2 separate regions of the Homo sapiens genome follow, and region 1 is linked to region 2. Evidence: promoter capture Hi-C in 16 types of primary human blood cells and fetal thymus (Javierre and others, 2016). All regions are on one chromosome and are shown on one strand. The core of a region is centred on a gene start or on the middle of the fragment in contact, and the rest is flanking DNA. Distances in the headings are between cores, read along the strand shown.

Region 1 (3,114 bases), core at 38-2,537, 280 kb before region 2:
GAGCCGACTTCCCCACTCAAGGACTGTGAAACTTTAGTTTCTTTAGGAAACTAAGCACTCATCTTTTCATAATTTAATAGGGCGGATTCCAAGCCCTAGCTTCATACTGCCTGACTTTCTTTTCAGAATTTCAACTGTTTTTTCACCCCTGGGCCATGAAGTTAGAGAGTGCAGGTATGATGCCCTGAAAAGCAGACTTGTGCTCCAATCCCACCTCCATATGCTCATCTGCGAAATAGAGACACCAGCTGGGGCAGTGCAGTGTTGCCCGGCCCTGCTTACAGGGGCCCTCCCTGGGCAGGCTGCCCAACTTCCAGACCAACCTTCCACCACGTGGAGCAGCAAGCCCGCCTGCAGCCCTGCCATGCTGCGCAGCTCTGAGACGTGGTCCAGTGTGCTGCCACCCAGGTGCAGTGAGAAGTGATGTGGTGACATGGGTATTCATGGTCCATGAACAGCTGGTGGATCTCCAGCACCATCTCCTGCGGGAACACCTGCCAGGGAGAAGGCCCGGACCAGCCCGGTCAGAGGCCACATGGTAGGGAGCAAGGACATACCCCTTCCCCAGCCCAAAACACCTGGGTCCTGAGAATAAGTGTCTCAAATACTCAGTTTCCCACTTTTGGGCTTTTACATTCCAGGCCCTGTCCATATACAGCATGCCCATTGGCACCTGTGTGCCTAAGTGCAGGACAGAGCCTGGCCCCACTGACTCTTCCTGCAGCCTAAGAGCAACCCCCGAGCCAAGGAGAGGGAGATGGAAGAAAGTGGGGAGGGGGAACGGCAGGCTTGCTCTTGCCCTTGCCTAGTGCCAAGGGCTGAGTGCCCCAGGGCAAATGGCCTTTTCCTTCCTGAAGGGGTGCTCCAGGGCCCAAGCCTGTGAGTAGAGAGGACATGAGAGGGTCTTGCCAGGCTCCCCACCAAGTTACCAGCTTGCAAGTCCTCCGGGTTTGCTCTGTCCTTGGAGAACACCCAATACCACCCTCCAGGCCCCGGTGACAGATGGTAAGGCCATGGCCCATAGAGAGGTGACTTGCCTGAGGGCACAGAGCCAAGAGGCTGGGGCATCCTGGGACCTGACACTACCCACCCATTCCCACTCCTCTCCCTGAACAGGGCTGGTAGGCCCAGCTGGTAGCTGTCCTCTAGCAATAAGGCAGTAACTGAACCCGGACTCCATTCCCAGGTCCACCACATTAGCAGAGTGACCCCGGGCAGGGCCCAGGGCCCTCCATTTCCTGCCTATAGCACAGGGCCAGAAAGAGCCAGGGCAAGGCTGAGTTTTCCAGCATCATCTTCCCCAGCAGGCTCAAGCCCTGGTCCCCAGATCCCCTCCTCCATCATACCCACAGGGAGAAGGGTTCGATCTCGGGGCCAGGATCTCCACAGAAAAGTCCAAATCCTGAATGGTGACTTCTATCTGGTGGTGTCGTCTCCTGGCTTGGCCTCATCCAGCCCATGTTCCCGGGATGGCTCAGCCTCCTCCTTCCTCCTTCAGGCTCCTTCTTCTTCAGGGTCTCCAGGCAGTTCCCATTCAAGAACATGAGTGATGGTGGCTCTGGGGGTGACAAGAAAGGCACTGAGTTGGTTGGGCCTTGCTGGTGAGGGAGGGCTGTCCACCTCACCCCACTTGGATGGACACAAGTCATATGGAACGGTGTCCGCGTGCCCTCCAGAGCTTTGACTCCACAGTCCCAGCTCACCCTCGGCACACCTGCAAGCTGCACCTTCTCCCTTTCACATCCTGTGCCTCCCTCCTCAACTGCTCCTTAGCCCACCACAGTCTGGCTTCCACCTGAGCTCGCTGTCCAAACCACTCTCCCCACATCACCAAGGCCACCCTCAGGGCCAAGCCCCAGGGGCTTCTCCAGCCCAGGTACATCTGTCCACTCACCAGCACCCAGGCCACTGCTCATTTCCTTTCCTCCTCCCTGACCAATGCCACACCCTCGTCCCTCCCTCTCCAGCTCCATCCTCTTCCTCCAGTCCTGAGCTGGGAGTGTTGGGCCCCCCAGCCTCTCCTCATTCTCACCTCACCCTCTCCCATGGCTTCAAAGATGGTCCCATTTCCCAGCTCTCATAGCCAATCCTGGCCTCGATCAGGCCTTTCAGACCAAGGAGGCAGCTGGTCCTGGGCATCAACATGTGGCTCTCCCTTCAGTATCATGGAAGACCCATCCTGCAGGGATGAAATTCATCTTCCTCCACAAACTGGTCTCAGCGTGTGAAGGCCCCCCACCACTTATCTAGTCACCCAACCTCAATTTCCCATCTCCTATTTCAAGAATGCCCCTTGGAACCCTTCTAAGAAGCACACTGCTCACAAAACCAAGCTGCTTTTTTTTTTTGAGATGGAGTCTTGCTCTGTTGCCTAGGCCGGAGTGTAGTGGTGTGATCTTGGCTCACTGAAACCTCCGCCTCCTGGGTTCAAGAGAGTCTCCTGTCTCAGCCTCCCAAGTAGGTGGGACAGGCATGTGCCACCACGCCCAGCTAATTTTTGTATTTTTAGTAGAGACGGGGCCATGTTGGCCAGGCTGGTCCTAAGCTCAGGTGATCCGCCTGCCTCAGCCTCCCAAAGTGCTGGGATCACAGGCATGAGCCACCACACCCAGCCAAAATCAAGCTTCTTAAGCCCGTGTTCTCAGGCACCAGCCTAAAGGCAACCCCAGCTCCTGCCGGCTCCTGCACTTAGGTCTACATTCCCCAAACCACAGAGGACTGAGAATACCTGAAACCTGCCCTCCCACCTCTCTGCTTTTCCATGCTGCCCCTGACATCTCAGTCTGTCGGGCAAACACTGACTCATCCTTCAAGGCCTAGGTGAAAGTGTCTACAGGTAGACTATTGCTGCCTACCTGCCACCCATCCTCCTTCCCAGAGATCAGTGAATGAAGGATGTGGAGCCCCAGAAGGAGGGAACTATGTCTTCTGATCTGTCCACAGCCTTGACCTCCAAAGTTTAGATGTGGATGGAGTAGAATAAAGGCAAACTTCTTTTTTTTTTTGCAATTTGGCCTTGGCCCTAATGGTCAGGCTGCATCTGCTTGAAATCTACAATAAAGAGCAAATAGTTGATAACGTTGTGAATTGCAGAGGGGAAGCTGGCAGTTGAGA
Region 2 (3,229 bases), core at 300-2,799:
ACACTGTATAACATTTGACTGCTCAAGGAGGTTATTTTTTTTAAAAATAGCAGCAGCTTAAAGTTGGATGGAACATACTGTTCAGTTTATTACCAATGAGAAACAGGTATAGAGCCCCTTCTTGAAAATATATCTTCCTCGTTTTTTTTATATATTAAATTCAGATTATATGTCTATATAATTCATTCTTCTTTTGTATATTAAGTTCATATTAGTACATCAGCCCTTGATCAAAGCTAGAAGCTTCCTATTGGATTGTAATTCTGAAAAGGCATTGTTGTAGGGTTAACCAAAGTAACAAGGTTCAAGCATTCATTACATACATATTTTTAGAACACCTCCTTCATGCCAAGGTCCCTGCCCGTTGCTGAGGACAGAACAGGCAGATGTCATCCCTGCCTGGTCTTGTGGCTTTCTTGTGACCTGCTTTGATAGAGGGTTCACACCAGCCCTGTCTAGGCTTGCTTTCTCCAAGTAGTCATATTTTTCAGATTGAAATAATGCACTTTGCAGTAGACACCTGTCAGGCTTGTGGCTGCCTGGAACCTTTTGAATACTCATCCTAGACCTGGAGATTTTCCCTACAATTCCTGCCTCCCTAAGGCAGAATCCAGAGCTCAGTTTCCCATCCCCTCCTGCAGCTGGGGGACCTAGGGGTTGCCAGTTGGTGCAATCACATAATTCTTTCAGAAAAGAGCGACCCAGGATACAGGTTTCATGAAGAATCTGTTTTCAAGAGGGGATGAGGGTGGAAAATTCTGGTTTTCCAGGGCAGCCTTAATGAAGCTTTTGGCATCCAGGGTCCAGCAGTGTGAGCTGTGGGGGTGTCACTGCAGCTGGCCAACGGAATGACTTGTTTATGACTGTGCAGACTGTAGGCATCTCTGGCTATATCAGACATAGTAAGCTACCTAAGATTCTCAATTACTTATCTTCTAAAACTAGTAAGAGTGAGTTCTGTTCTTTGCAAAGAACTGTGACTAATACATATACTGAACTACTGTTACCTGCCAAAATCCAGGTTGACACATTCCTACCTTACATAAACTTCATAAAAATGATGTAAGGGCCGTGTAGTGGCTCATGCCTGTAATCCCAGCACTGTGGGAGGCTGAGGCGGGAGGATCACGTGAGCTCAAGAGTTCCACACCAGCCTGGACAATATAGTGAGATCCCCGTCTCCAGTATTTAAAAAATCTTTTAAGGTACGAATTATTATACATTTTACAGCTGAAAACACTGAGACTCAAAAAGACACTTAATTCATTCTACAAATATTTATTAAAGCCCAACTGTGTGCCAGCCACCAGGCATAGAATAGGGAACAAAATAGTTTCCCTGCAACTATATAAAAAGAATGGCATATTGTACTTAAATGCCTCCTTGCCAAAATAAGAGGCACAGGACAACAGCTGTCTGGAGATGACCTCAAGCCAGTCAGGCCCCATTTTAAATATAGAAACCCCTAAGAATAGCCGCCAGTGCTCCAGACTCAACAGGTGATTGGCCCAGAGAGGGGAGGTGACCCCAGGCCCCAGGAAAGGGAGCGAGGACAGCGCTGGTTCCCGGCTCCCCGCACCATCATGGCTTTGCCTCTGAGGCCCCTGACCCGGGGCTTGGCCAGCGCTGCCAAAGGAGGCCACGGAGGAGCAGGAGGTGAGTGGGGAACGGGCGGATCCGGGGGCTCCCCTACCCTGCCCACCTGTTCACAGGCCCGCCGCCCCAGGACCGCCGCGCTCACCCCGCTCCGTCCGCAGCTCGTACCTGGCGTCTGCTGACCTTCGTGCTGGCGCTGCCCAGCGTGGCCCTCTGCACCTTCAACTCCTATCTCCACTCGGGCCACCGCCCGCGCCCCGAGTTCCGTCCCTACCAACACCTCCGCATCCGCACCAAGGTACGCGGGACGGGCGCGCGGGCGGCACGGGGGTGCTGCGGGGGCGGGGGGGGGTGCTGCGGGGGCGGGGGGGGGTGCTGCGGGGGGGGGGTCGCGCGGGGCGCGGACTCCGGACTCACGGCGCTCACGCGCGCTCCCTCCCCCGCTCTCTCCACAGCCCTACCCCTGGGGGGACGGCAACCACACTCTGTTCCACAATAGCCACGTGAACCCTCTGCCCACGGGCTACGAACACCCCTGAGGCCCCGGACGCCCCCGGACACAATAAAGGTGTGAAGCTTCGAGTCTGCGGCTCTGTGGGGAGGGCGGGGCCACGGGGAGCGCGCCCAGAGGCGCCCGCTCCGCGCATGCGCCCAGCTTGGTAAGCGCTCCTGCTCCGCGCATGCGCCTAGCGCGGTGGGCGCTCCACGTGCTTTTCCCACGCCGCTGATACGGAGGTGCTCGAGGGAGCCTCCTCCACTCACAGGTAGGCGATCCCAGCTCCCTGTCTCTCACCTGGTAATAATGAGGCCTCCCTCTCACACACACCTATTAATAATTAGGGCTCTAGGCTGTAATGGGCTTCCGCGTACACCGAATCCTCACAGTAACGCTGGGAGCAGGGTATAAATTTAGTTCACCTTCTCCCGAGGAAGACCTGAGATTCTTGGGAATTAAATGACTTGTCCAAGTTCCGGCAGCTCGGCAGAGCCCCCATGGGAGCCCAGGGCTGCAGATCCTGAAGTCCCACTTCTTGCCTGACACCTGAGCTGCTGGTGTCTGTGAATCCCAGCTCTCTGGATTTCAGACGGAGGCTCCACAGTCCTGTGTGTGAGGCCTTGGGACCTAATGCTGGATTTGGAATCTTTTGATAATTCTCTATAATCTTTCTTTCTTTTTTTTTTTTTTTTTTTGAGACGGAGTCTCGCTCTGTCGCCCAGGCCGGACTGCGGACTGCAGTGGTGCAATCTCGGCTCACTGCAAGCTCCGCTTCCCGGGTTCACGCCATTCTCCTGCCTCAGCCTCCTGAGTAGCTGGGACTACAGGCGCCCGCCACCGCGCCCGGCTAATTTTTTGTATTTTTAGTAGAGACGGGGTTTCACCTTGTTAGCCAGGATGGTCTCGATCTCCTGACCTCATGATCCACCCGCCTCGGCCTCCCAAAGTGCTGGGATTACAGGCGTGAGCCACCGCGCCCGGCCTATAATCTTTCTTAATGAGTCTTCTATATGGGAAATCACATGCTCCTAGCCTGGCTCTCCTGGCTTCTGAGTACCTCATTCAAGGGGGACAGGAGTTCAAATGAGCTCTGGACATTTCTTCACCTCCTAGGACAGCCTGCCCACTTACCATTAC

Evidence for each region. The method cuts DNA at HindIII sites, captures the fragments that hold promoters and counts their contacts. A CHiCAGO score of 5 or more calls a contact.
Region 1: a fragment that was not itself captured here is called in contact with the fragment with the promoter of COX6A2 in region 2 in 1 of 17 cell types (erythroblasts); the score reaches 5.1 in erythroblasts.

The regions. Positions count from the first base shown.
Region 1 is chr16:31,701,600-31,704,713 of GRCh38, reverse strand. It overlaps the pseudogene CLUHP3. Among named protein-coding and RNA genes, the nearest start is that of KRABD5, 10 kb to the left of the region's middle. The HindIII fragment of the contact is 2,676 bases long and covers 1-2,625 here.
Region 2 is chr16:31,426,680-31,429,908 of GRCh38, reverse strand. COX6A2 (cytochrome c oxidase subunit 6A2) reads left to right here and starts at 1,549. Exons shown (of 3, transcript NM_005205.4): 1 at 1,549-1,656; 2 at 1,758-1,894; 3 at 2,052-2,178. The coding sequence starts at 1,584. The coding sequence ends at 2,135. The HindIII fragment of the contact is 1,386 bases long and covers 789-2,174 here.